2 separate regions of the Homo sapiens genome follow, and region 1 is linked to region 2. The links are contacts of gene promoters, found by promoter capture Hi-C in human tissues and cell types (Jung and others, 2019). All regions are on one chromosome and are shown on one strand. Each heading gives the region's core, a stretch centred on a gene start or on the middle of the fragment in contact. The rest is flanking DNA. Distances are from core to core; before and after follow the strand shown.

The links. Contacts are between HindIII fragments. The study calls those that stand out against the background at their distance.
Region 1: a fragment that was not itself captured here is called in contact with the fragment with the promoter of GJB6 in region 2 in 5 of the 25 tissues and cell types used here (H1 embryonic stem cells, lymphoblastoid cells, mesenchymal stem cells and 2 more).

What each region holds. Positions count from the first base shown.
Region 1 is chr13:20,186,977-20,192,506 of GRCh38, reverse strand. It overlaps GJB2 (gap junction protein beta 2), which reads left to right. Exons shown (of 2, transcript NM_004004.6): 2 at 2,904-5,037. The coding sequence starts at 2,926. The coding sequence ends at 3,606. Among named protein-coding and RNA genes, the nearest start is that of GJB2, 3.2 kb to the left of the region's middle. The HindIII fragment of the contact is 5,520 bases long and covers 567-5,530 here.
Region 2 is chr13:20,230,138-20,235,650 of GRCh38, reverse strand. It overlaps GJB6 (gap junction protein beta 6), which reads left to right and starts at 3,332. Exons shown (of 5, transcript NM_001110219.3): 1 at 3,332-3,457; 2 at 4,146-4,269; 3 at 4,844-4,953. The HindIII fragment of the contact is 5,298 bases long and covers 1-4,271 here.

The DNA.
Region 1 (5,530 bases), core at 2,077-4,576, 43 kb after region 2:
AGCCGCCAGCGCGAGGTTTGTGGTGTCGCCGATGTCCCTTCGGGGTACTCTAGCGCAGCCGCCTGGCTACTTGACCCACTGCCACCAAACGTTTTAAATTCACCGAAAGCTTAGCTTCGAAGCAAAGCTCCGTTTCGCCGGTGAAGCAGGAAGCCTTCGCTGCAGGAACTGACCTTTACCTCTTGGAGCGGCTTCTGCAGAAAAATCCCCGGGCAGAGATTTGGGCGGAGTTTGCCTAGAACTAACGCGGAGCCAGCCGATCCCGGCCTACCCCGGGGCCAAGATTTCAGTGGCTTCCCTTTTTCCTAAACACTTCACGAGGGTCTGTTTCCGGGCTGTGCTCCCCGCCTAGAAGGAAAATTTTTAGGACCCTTGTTCGCGAAGAGGTGGTGTGCGGCTGAGACCCGCGTCCTCAGGACGGTTCCATCAGTGCCTCGATCCTGCCCCACTGGAGGAGGAAGGCAGCCCGAACAGCGCTCACCTAACTAACAGCTGCTGAGAGCTGGGTTCCGTGGCCATGCACCTGGGACTGCCTTGAGAAGCGTGGTACGGCCGTGTCCCCATGTGACCTTAGAGTCCCTTTCGAAACTGCTGTGCACAGTCGGTCACAATTTCAGACACTGGTGAGAAGGGTGGAGGAACCCTCTGGGGACAGCCAGGCAAGGTCGACCACCCATCACCTAAGGGTGGAGAAATTTAAGGGGTGAAGAGTCCCTTTTGCCTTTTCTGGATCCTGGTGATTCACCTAGTGTCTTCCCTAAGGAACTGAACCAACTCCTCCGCTGGCCTCTGGCAGCCCTCCAGGCGGTGCAGGATGGCGTGGGCCCGGTAGGAAGCTGCATGTAACCGCCCAGGGTCGGGAGGCCAGGAGGGCAGCTCCTCCTCTGACTTGAATATTGAAAACAACTTCGTCCTGCTTCTGAGCCCCTCTTAACCCATGACCCCCTAGCCCATTGGGGAGTAAATCTTAATTTACTCCTCTTCCTGAAAAAGGATCTTTAAAACAGGTAGCTTCAACTCAAGCTTTATAAAATAACAATATAGGGTTTCTCGGAACTGTATTTTTCTCAGCTGATGGTAACTGGACAGGTCTGTAGAAGGGTGTATGACCTGGGTTTGGCAGGTGGAAGAGGGCAAAGGATAAACCCCTCCTCCTGCAGCCCCATATTCTTGGCCAGGTGTATTGTTGTAAACCAGGAGAGAGTTTACTTCGGGGAGTATCCTGTTTTCCACTCAGTGAGGGCCAATGAAGAATGTCTAATTCCATAAGATGCTTTTGTTAAAATCGGAATGTTGCTGTCCTCGGTGGTTCTGCTGTTGGGACGGGACTGGCCTGAGCTGTGGGTGCTGTAGCAGGACAACCAGCTCACCTAAGGGCCTCCCAGTCTGGATTATCAATGGGTCAGTGCTGAACCTGGGCTAAAATATTGTTTTTTCCAATGATGTTGTCTTTCCCAAGCTCAGTGAAGCTAAATGTTTCACAGGCCTATGTCAATCTGATGTAACTTTCGTGGCCACCTCTCTCCTGTTAGCCTCTGACCAAGGTGGCACTGGATGGTTTCTGCCTGACCTTGGTGCCCCGTGGCAGCGACTGTGGGTCATGAAAGACATTCACTACGAGCCTGCTTCTGGAGTCCATCAGAAAACGGGATGCAACTTGCCTAAAATGAGGAGAGGAGGATGCTTTTAAGAAAAAGAAGAAGGAGGATTCACTACCAGCTCTGAAGGGTGGAAAAGAGATGATTCATCCGGATTGTGGAGAGGGTGGAATCTTGTTTAGGAGAGCGTTGGTTGTGGCAGGCAGGGTGTAACTATGAATCAGTGAAGACAATTCACATCCTGGGATGAAAAGAAGGCCATGGGCTCACAGGAGATTATCCACTGGCCTCTCCACATCCGCTTGCAGTAAGGAGTGTGGGACTCTCCCAAGCTTCAGCGCTGAACTGCAATGCAGTGACGTCGCTTAGCTGGGCCAGTAACCGAGGGAGTTGAATTTTCTGTCATTTTAAAATAATGTGTCTTTTAAGAAACACTTTGAAATTAAAACCACAGCCCACAATTATAATGCACTGTTGCAGCACTTATCAAAACAGATATGCTAACTGAGCCATCAGTGCCAGCCTGACAGTGAGGCCACCAAGCCATCCACAAAGCCTACACGAAAGTCTGTGCTCACAGTGGCTTTTCTCCATGAAGAGGGCATTCCTAACCTCTTCCTTTCACGTAGGAGGAAGCAAGGTCCTTTGTAAAATTTTAACTCGGGGTGCCTCAAATGTAAACTTAACCACTGGTAACAACAGTTTCACTGCTACATGCCACGTCTGTGAAAATTCATTCAAGACATTAAGGAAAGTGGCTCAGCAGAGAGACTAGACATCTTATCCTCACGGTTCTCCTGTACTTGGCCTCTCAGCCTTTGAGCAAGGTTGGCCCAAGCTAGTATCGGCCCCAGTGGTACAGCCAAAACTTGAGACTGCAAATGGATGCAGCTGTTGAACGCTGAGTAACTTCTGCAGAGTCAGGAAGACCCAAGGAAGCTCTGCAGAGGATGCAGGGGTACGGTCAGAACCCCTGAGTGCCTTTCAGCTAACGAGGACTTTATGACACTCCCCAGCACAGCAAATTTTTATGATGTGTTTAAAGATTGGGTGAATTACTCAGGTGAACAAGCTACTTTTTATCAGAGAACACCTAAAAACACGTTCAAGAGGGTTTGGGAACTATACATTTAATCCTATGACAAACTAAGTTGGTTCTGTCTTCACCTGTTTTGGTGAGGTTGTGTAAGAGTTGGTGTTTGCTCAGGAAGAGATTTAAGCATGCTTGCTTACCCAGACTCAGAGAAGTCTCCCTGTTCTGTCCTAGCTAGTGATTCCTGTGTTGTGTGCATTCGTCTTTTCCAGAGCAAACCGCCCAGAGTAGAAGATGGATTGGGGCACGCTGCAGACGATCCTGGGGGGTGTGAACAAACACTCCACCAGCATTGGAAAGATCTGGCTCACCGTCCTCTTCATTTTTCGCATTATGATCCTCGTTGTGGCTGCAAAGGAGGTGTGGGGAGATGAGCAGGCCGACTTTGTCTGCAACACCCTGCAGCCAGGCTGCAAGAACGTGTGCTACGATCACTACTTCCCCATCTCCCACATCCGGCTATGGGCCCTGCAGCTGATCTTCGTGTCCACGCCAGCGCTCCTAGTGGCCATGCACGTGGCCTACCGGAGACATGAGAAGAAGAGGAAGTTCATCAAGGGGGAGATAAAGAGTGAATTTAAGGACATCGAGGAGATCAAAACCCAGAAGGTCCGCATCGAAGGCTCCCTGTGGTGGACCTACACAAGCAGCATCTTCTTCCGGGTCATCTTCGAAGCCGCCTTCATGTACGTCTTCTATGTCATGTACGACGGCTTCTCCATGCAGCGGCTGGTGAAGTGCAACGCCTGGCCTTGTCCCAACACTGTGGACTGCTTTGTGTCCCGGCCCACGGAGAAGACTGTCTTCACAGTGTTCATGATTGCAGTGTCTGGAATTTGCATCCTGCTGAATGTCACTGAATTGTGTTATTTGCTAATTAGATATTGTTCTGGGAAGTCAAAAAAGCCAGTTTAACGCATTGCCCAGTTGTTAGATTAAGAAATAGACAGCATGAGAGGGATGAGGCAACCCGTGCTCAGCTGTCAAGGCTCAGTCGCTAGCATTTCCCAACACAAAGATTCTGACCTTAAATGCAACCATTTGAAACCCCTGTAGGCCTCAGGTGAAACTCCAGATGCCACAATGGAGCTCTGCTCCCCTAAAGCCTCAAAACAAAGGCCTAATTCTATGCCTGTCTTAATTTTCTTTCACTTAAGTTAGTTCCACTGAGACCCCAGGCTGTTAGGGGTTATTGGTGTAAGGTACTTTCATATTTTAAACAGAGGATATCGGCATTTGTTTCTTTCTCTGAGGACAAGAGAAAAAAGCCAGGTTCCACAGAGGACACAGAGAAGGTTTGGGTGTCCTCCTGGGGTTCTTTTTGCCAACTTTCCCCACGTTAAAGGTGAACATTGGTTCTTTCATTTGCTTTGGAAGTTTTAATCTCTAACAGTGGACAAAGTTACCAGTGCCTTAAACTCTGTTACACTTTTTGGAAGTGAAAACTTTGTAGTATGATAGGTTATTTTGATGTAAAGATGTTCTGGATACCATTATATGTTCCCCCTGTTTCAGAGGCTCAGATTGTAATATGTAAATGGTATGTCATTCGCTACTATGATTTAATTTGAAATATGGTCTTTTGGTTATGAATACTTTGCAGCACAGCTGAGAGGCTGTCTGTTGTATTCATTGTGGTCATAGCACCTAACAACATTGTAGCCTCAATCGAGTGAGACAGACTAGAAGTTCCTAGTGATGGCTTATGATAGCAAATGGCCTCATGTCAAATATTTAGATGTAATTTTGTGTAAGAAATACAGACTGGATGTACCACCAACTACTACCTGTAATGACAGGCCTGTCCAACACATCTCCCTTTTCCATGACTGTGGTAGCCAGCATCGGAAAGAACGCTGATTTAAAGAGGTCGCTTGGGAATTTTATTGACACAGTACCATTTAATGGGGAGGACAAAATGGGGCAGGGGAGGGAGAAGTTTCTGTCGTTAAAAACAGATTTGGAAAGACTGGACTCTAAAGTCTGTTGATTAAAGATGAGCTTTGTCTACTTCAAAAGTTTGTTTGCTTACCCCTTCAGCCTCCAATTTTTTAAGTGAAAATATAGCTAATAACATGTGAAAAGAATAGAAGCTAAGGTTTAGATAAATATTGAGCAGATCTATAGGAAGATTGAACCTGAATATTGCCATTATGCTTGACATGGTTTCCAAAAAATGGTACTCCACATATTTCAGTGAGGGTAAGTATTTTCCTGTTGTCAAGAATAGCATTGTAAAAGCATTTTGTAATAATAAAGAATAGCTTTAATGATATGCTTGTAACTAAAATAATTTTGTAATGTATCAAATACATTTAAAACATTAAAATATAATCTCTATAATAATTTAAAATCTAATATGGTTTTAATAGAACAGCAAATTTTAATTTCATCTATCACTTTTTATATAAATACATTAATGTTTTATATTTCATAACACCAATGGGTAAGTTGCCAGAGTGTCTGACCCCATTCTGCCCCAGTTACAGAAAAGCTTCTGTCACCAGAAAGTTTGGTGGGGAAGGAAGGGAGGAAGATGATTTCTACCTAACCCCGTGCCCACCTCTACCAGGTTTTTGAGGCATATCAGTCTATGGACAATGTGGTGTTTGGTCTGGAAACGTACCTTGGTGAATGCTGAGTTGGCTGGACATGACCCGTTTAGCTCCTGGATGAATCCCAGAAGTGGACCTTCAAAATGTTACTCATAGCATGACCTTGGCTCACTGCAACCTCTGCCTCCCAGGCTCAAGCGATCCTCCCACCTCAGCGTCCCAAGTAGCTGGGACCACTGGAGTGTGCCACCACACTCCACTAATTTTTTCATTTTTTGTAGAAA
Region 2 (5,513 bases), core at 2,083-4,582:
AGAACCATGAGTGAATTAAATTTCTTTTCTTTTCTTTTTTTGAGACCGGTCTCACTGTGTTGCTCAGGCTGGAGCACAGTGGCAAGATCATAGCTCACTGCAGCCTCCATCACCCAGGCTCAAGTGATCCTCCTGCCTCAGCCTCCTGAGTAACAGGGACTACAGGCACACACCATCACACCCAGCTAATTTTTTTTTTTTTTTTTTTTTTTAGTAGAGATGAGGTCTCACTATATTGCCCAGGATGGTCTTAAACTCCTGAGCTCAAGCAATCCTCCTGCCTCAGCCTCCCAAAGTGCTGGGATTACAGGCGTGAGCCACCACACCGGCCTGTCTTTTCTTTATAAATTACCCAGCCTCGGGTATTTATTTGTGGCAATGCAAAAACAGCCTAACACATGCATGTTGGGTTCTAGATGTAGCTGGAACCAGTTACCCCTTTCTTCCTGCCTCTCTCTCCCTTTTGGAATGAAAATATCTCTCCTATGCCTGCCCCACCATTGTCTTTTGGGAGTAGATAGCCTGTTTTGATTTCACAGGTTCACAGCTGGAAAGGAGTCTGCCTCAGGCCAGCTATGCCTGCCTTGGAGTCTTAGCTTTATCTGATTTAGATGGGACTCTGGATTTGAACTTTTCAGTTGGTGCTGGAAGAGTTAAGCCTTTGGGGACTATTGGGATGGAATGAATGTATTTCACATGTGAGAAAGGCATGAATTTGGGGGGCTAAGACAGAATGCTATGGTTTGAATGTGTCCCCTAAAGTCCATGTGTTGGAAACTTAATCCCCAATGAAACAGTGTTGAAAGATGGGAGGGACTTTTAAGAGGTGAGGAGGTATGATGGCTTTGCCCTCATGAATGGATTAATGCTGTGATCTCTAGAGTGGGTTAGTTATCTTGAGAGTGGGTTCCTGAAAAAACAATGAGTTTGAACCCCTTCCTCTCTCTCCACCCCCACCTCTCTCTCTTTTCTTTCCCTATCTTCTCATTCTTTTGCCCCTCCACCTCTGCCATGGGAAGACACAGCAAGAAAACCCTCGCCAGATGCGAGCATCTTGATATCAGACTTCCCAGCCTCTAGAATTCTGAAAAATAAATTTCTTTTCTTTATCAGTTACCCAGTCTATGGTATTCTGTTATAGCAACACAAATGGACTAAGACAACTAATTTTCAGTTTTCAAATGCGCATCCCATCAAGTCCTTAAGTTTTATACAGTCCACATTTAATTTCTGCTGCAACAAGACTGTCTGATGAGTAGCAAAAACTGAAGGACAGTGTTCAATGTTAAGGCCATGCAGACTAATATAGATAACCTGAACAGAAAAAGAGATATTTTACACAGTGATGAGATGGTTTCATTTTTGCACACATGAGCAAATGCAACACATTCTCTGTGACAACTTTGGTTTGAAAGTTCTATCCTGCACCAGTCCTAGAACAATTTCCACTGGTCCAGGATGTCAATGCTCAGACACAGTACTGCATGGAATCAGGTGCAGGATTGAGAACAGGGCATGCTTTAGAAAAAGCAAAAGCTATTTCCAGGACTATCTGCTATGCTGGTTCAGCTTTGCCAAGCAATATTCAAATACTCATGGAGCAGCACATACTATGAGCAAAGTACTTAGTATTGTAGAAATGCAAAAGAAGAAGAAGAGGAAGAAAAGCTTAAACTGTTTATAATCCCCAAAGAAGTTTACAATCTGCTTAGAAAAATTATTTTACTATGCAAACAGCTGAGCCTGGCTGAAGCATCTGTTTGGGAGAGGAATGGAGAGAAGACTGGGAAGTCCACAGTTAGATTGTGTGGGGCAGGACAGAGCACCCAAGATTTACCGCATAGGGCACATCTGGGCAGTGTGAGGATGTCTAACAAAAAAGCCTAGAGATGCTCGGCGCGGTGGCTCACGCCTGTAATCCCAGCACTTTGGGAGGCTGAGGCAGGTGGATCACCTGAGGTCAGGAGCTCCAGACCAGCCTGGCCAACATGGTGAAACCCAGCTCTACTAAAAATACAAAACCTAGCCAGGCATGGTGGTGCGGGCCTGTAATCCCAGCGACTCGGGAAGCTGAGGCAGGAGAATCACTTGAACCCGGGAGGCAGAGGTTGCAATGAGCTGAGATCACACCACCACACTCCAGCCTGGGCAACAGAGCCAGACTTAGTCAAAATAAATAAATAAATAAATAAATAAATAAATAAATAAATAAATTTAAAAAGCCTAGAGATTTCTGTGTCTCTCCACTCTCCAAGTTCAAGGCCATTTCAGGGGCCTCCCCAAAGTTTTTAAAACTTGACTTGGGCAAATTCTTTAAGAACCTTGTTCTCCTCAAATAAAATATTTTGGAAAGCGGATTTTTATGAAGTCTTGGCTCAAATTCCATGACCTTTAACAGACATCTTAATTGTTTCGTGGGAGAATATGACCCAACAAGTGGCATATGGTTTAGGTGGGGACGTTTAATTACCGAACAGTTTTGTAGAATAAGCAAGTCACACATCTTTTGTCCGATGCGTGACAGGTTTGAACCTGTAAAGCCAGGTGCCTAAATAGCTTCCAACGTTTCCACCCCACCAGCCCTTGCACCACTCCCTGTACTGGCCCTGAGCTTTCTAGTCTTGACTGAAAAGCGGGGAGGCAATGTGGTCTCTCCTGGTGCACTGTCCCGAGGAAGGCCTGCTCCGCTTCCCCGGAGGAGTCTTCAAAGGATGGAGGTAATTAATAAAAACAACCCCTGTACCTCCTCTAAGTGGTCATTAATTAATAAAGAACCTCCAGGCTCCTATAGGAGAGGTCTGTGCACCCCGCGGGCTATGAGAAGGCTGGATCACCCAGAAAGACTGAGGATGTGTCCTGGCAAAAACACAGCCTGCCCCTCACACTGCTCCCCACGGGTGCACTAGGGAGGAAGAGTTCCCTCGAGGGCCTGAGCAGGCGCCCCACACCTGCACCCGTGCAGAGGGGGCTGGGCCCGCCCTCTGCGCTCCCGAGGGAGAGCCCTACCCCCTGCATCCCCGGTACCCCGTTCCCTCCAAGGGCCGGAAAGAGGGCCCCGCGCACTGTGCACTTCTTAGGGGTCCCCCACCCTGCGCCCCCGCCACGGGAAAAAGGTCCCCGCTCTGCGCATCCGGCCCCGGAGGGACAGCCCCGGTCCTGCACTCCTTGCTCCTCAGGGGGACGGTCCGCGCCCAGCGGCTAGTGCGCCCCGGGTAGGTGGGGGCGGGGGGCTCGTCGAGTGACAGCGCTCGCCTCCCGCAGCCCGCCCGAGCCGCGTCAGGGCAGAGGCGGGGTGGGGCGCGGTTAAAAGGCGCAGCAGGTGGGAGCCGGGGCCTTCACCCGAAACCCGACGAGAGCCCGACAGCCGGCGGCGCCCGAGCCCGACCTGCCTGCCCAGCCGGAGCGAAGGGCGCCGCCCCGCGCAGAGCCCGCGCCAGGGCCGCCGGCCGCAGAGCAGGTAAGCGGGCGCGGACCGGCTGGGTCTTGCGGGGGGCGAGCGGGCGGTGCCACCTCGGCCCCCCAGCGGAGGAATTTCCTCCAAGAAAACAAAACAGGTGAGGTCGGCGGCTGGTCCCCACCTCGCCCCTGTCGCTCCTGTCTGGCACCGGATCAGAGCCGGCAGAGCGCGGCCGGGATGGGTGTCTGGCCGCACGTGGGGCGACCGGGCCCCCGATCTGCCTCTATCCGCACCCTCCTGTCCACGCGCCCCGGCCCCGGCCCGATGGCAGTGGGCGCCGCCCGCGCTGGACCCTCTCTCTGTACGCAGAGGAACGAGGATGGACTGGTTTGACTTTTACCCCAGCGTGGTCCCCTTTGACTTGTACAACAGGTTTTATGAAGGTTTCATATCGTGTGTCTAAGAGGCCAGAGTGAGGGCCGGTGCCCCTTTCCCCCGTTTCATTTGCTGCGTGTTGGATTTTCTAAGCTTTTGTGGGTCACCGGGGTGTCCCCTTGGATTTGGGGAGAAGAAAGCCAGGTCTAGGATGCGGGTTTCAGTTCAGACAAACCCTCAACTTGGGCCGATGCATAAGTCCCCGGAGAACCGCAGGGTATGGGCTGCGTGATGGGCTTCCGAGAAACTTGTGAAATGCTGATGACAATAGCGTGGACGACAGTAATTAAAAGTAATTGGCGACACATCTTAGTTAAAACGTGCAGGCACCAGAAGGCACTTCCTGTCGGTGAAGAAGACCTGTCTCCGGTGTCACGGGCATCCTGTGTTTTGCAAACGGGGCTGACCTCCCTTCCTGGGGAGCAGGAAGGGTCAGGGTGAGTGTGGCCTGCCCGCAGCTCTGCACTCCCGGAGGGGTTAGGGACCTGCAACCAGGCGGGGACACTGGCCCAGCGACCTCAGTGTCCCCTGGGTGGGCGTGCACTCTGTTTAGTGTCTGATTGAACGTAACCGTGCCGGGTTGTTCTTTTCCCTCAAGTAGACTTTATGCCATACAGCTATTTTCTTGCCCCAGTTCTAGCAGAATCTAACCAGTGTTCTAGAAGAAAATGTCCTGCCCCCATGCAGTCTCCTTAGAATTGCAGGGTGCTGCTCAGAACTGCTCCTGTGGAGAGCTTTGTCTGTTGTTTGGATCCAGCAGCGTCTTTGGGGGTGTTGCTTGAAGCTTGCCAAGGAGGAGAGGGGGGTTCTGAAGAGAGAACACCAGGGCTCTAGCCTGTCACATAACTGGGGGTGTGGAGAGCGCCTCATTGCCACTGCAGTGACTAAAGCTGGGAAGACGCTGGTCAGTTCACCTGCCCCACTGGTTGTTTTTTAAACAAATTCTGATACAGGTAATGATGACTTTATGCTTTTTTTCTTATGTCTTCTCTTCTGAATTCTGAGTGTTAGGAAGGAAAAGAAGTACAGAAGATCTGGCTAAACAATTTCTGTATGGCGAAAGAAAAATTCTAACTTGTACGCCCTCTTCATGCATCTTTAATTCAATTTGAATATTCCAGGTGCTGTGAGCAGTTTGCATATATTAGTTTAAATGTTAAATGGGATAAAATTGTGGGAAAGTGATTTCTGACCCAAGCTTCTTGGTCTGTGAGGGCATAACCTTCTAATGGCCACCTGCCATAGGTTATGATTTCTGTTTTAGTTGCTTAGTGCATGAGCATAGACCTGGAACCCCAGAGGGCCTGCTCCATTTTTATTCCCAGGGTCATTTAAATCTAGTTGAGCTTAAATGTTTGGAAAGGACACAGGTTTGCTTGAATGAACAAACATATATTGCTAACAAGACCCAGAGAAGGAAAGTTTAACTTAATGGAAATTAATTTTTAACTCTTTGAATTCTTAAATGATGTAAGAAACATACGTAATTGCATGAGTTTTCCATTTTTACATCTAGACTCCACAGACAGAAACGTTTCATTTTTATTGAGTTAATTTTGAAATATATGAATCCCTGACCCATTGTTATCACTAGCTGTTACTCTATCAGGACAGTTGCTGAAGTTTTTTGTCACTAAATTTAAAAATCAACTATCAGGTTGTCCCTTGGATGACCTGAGAT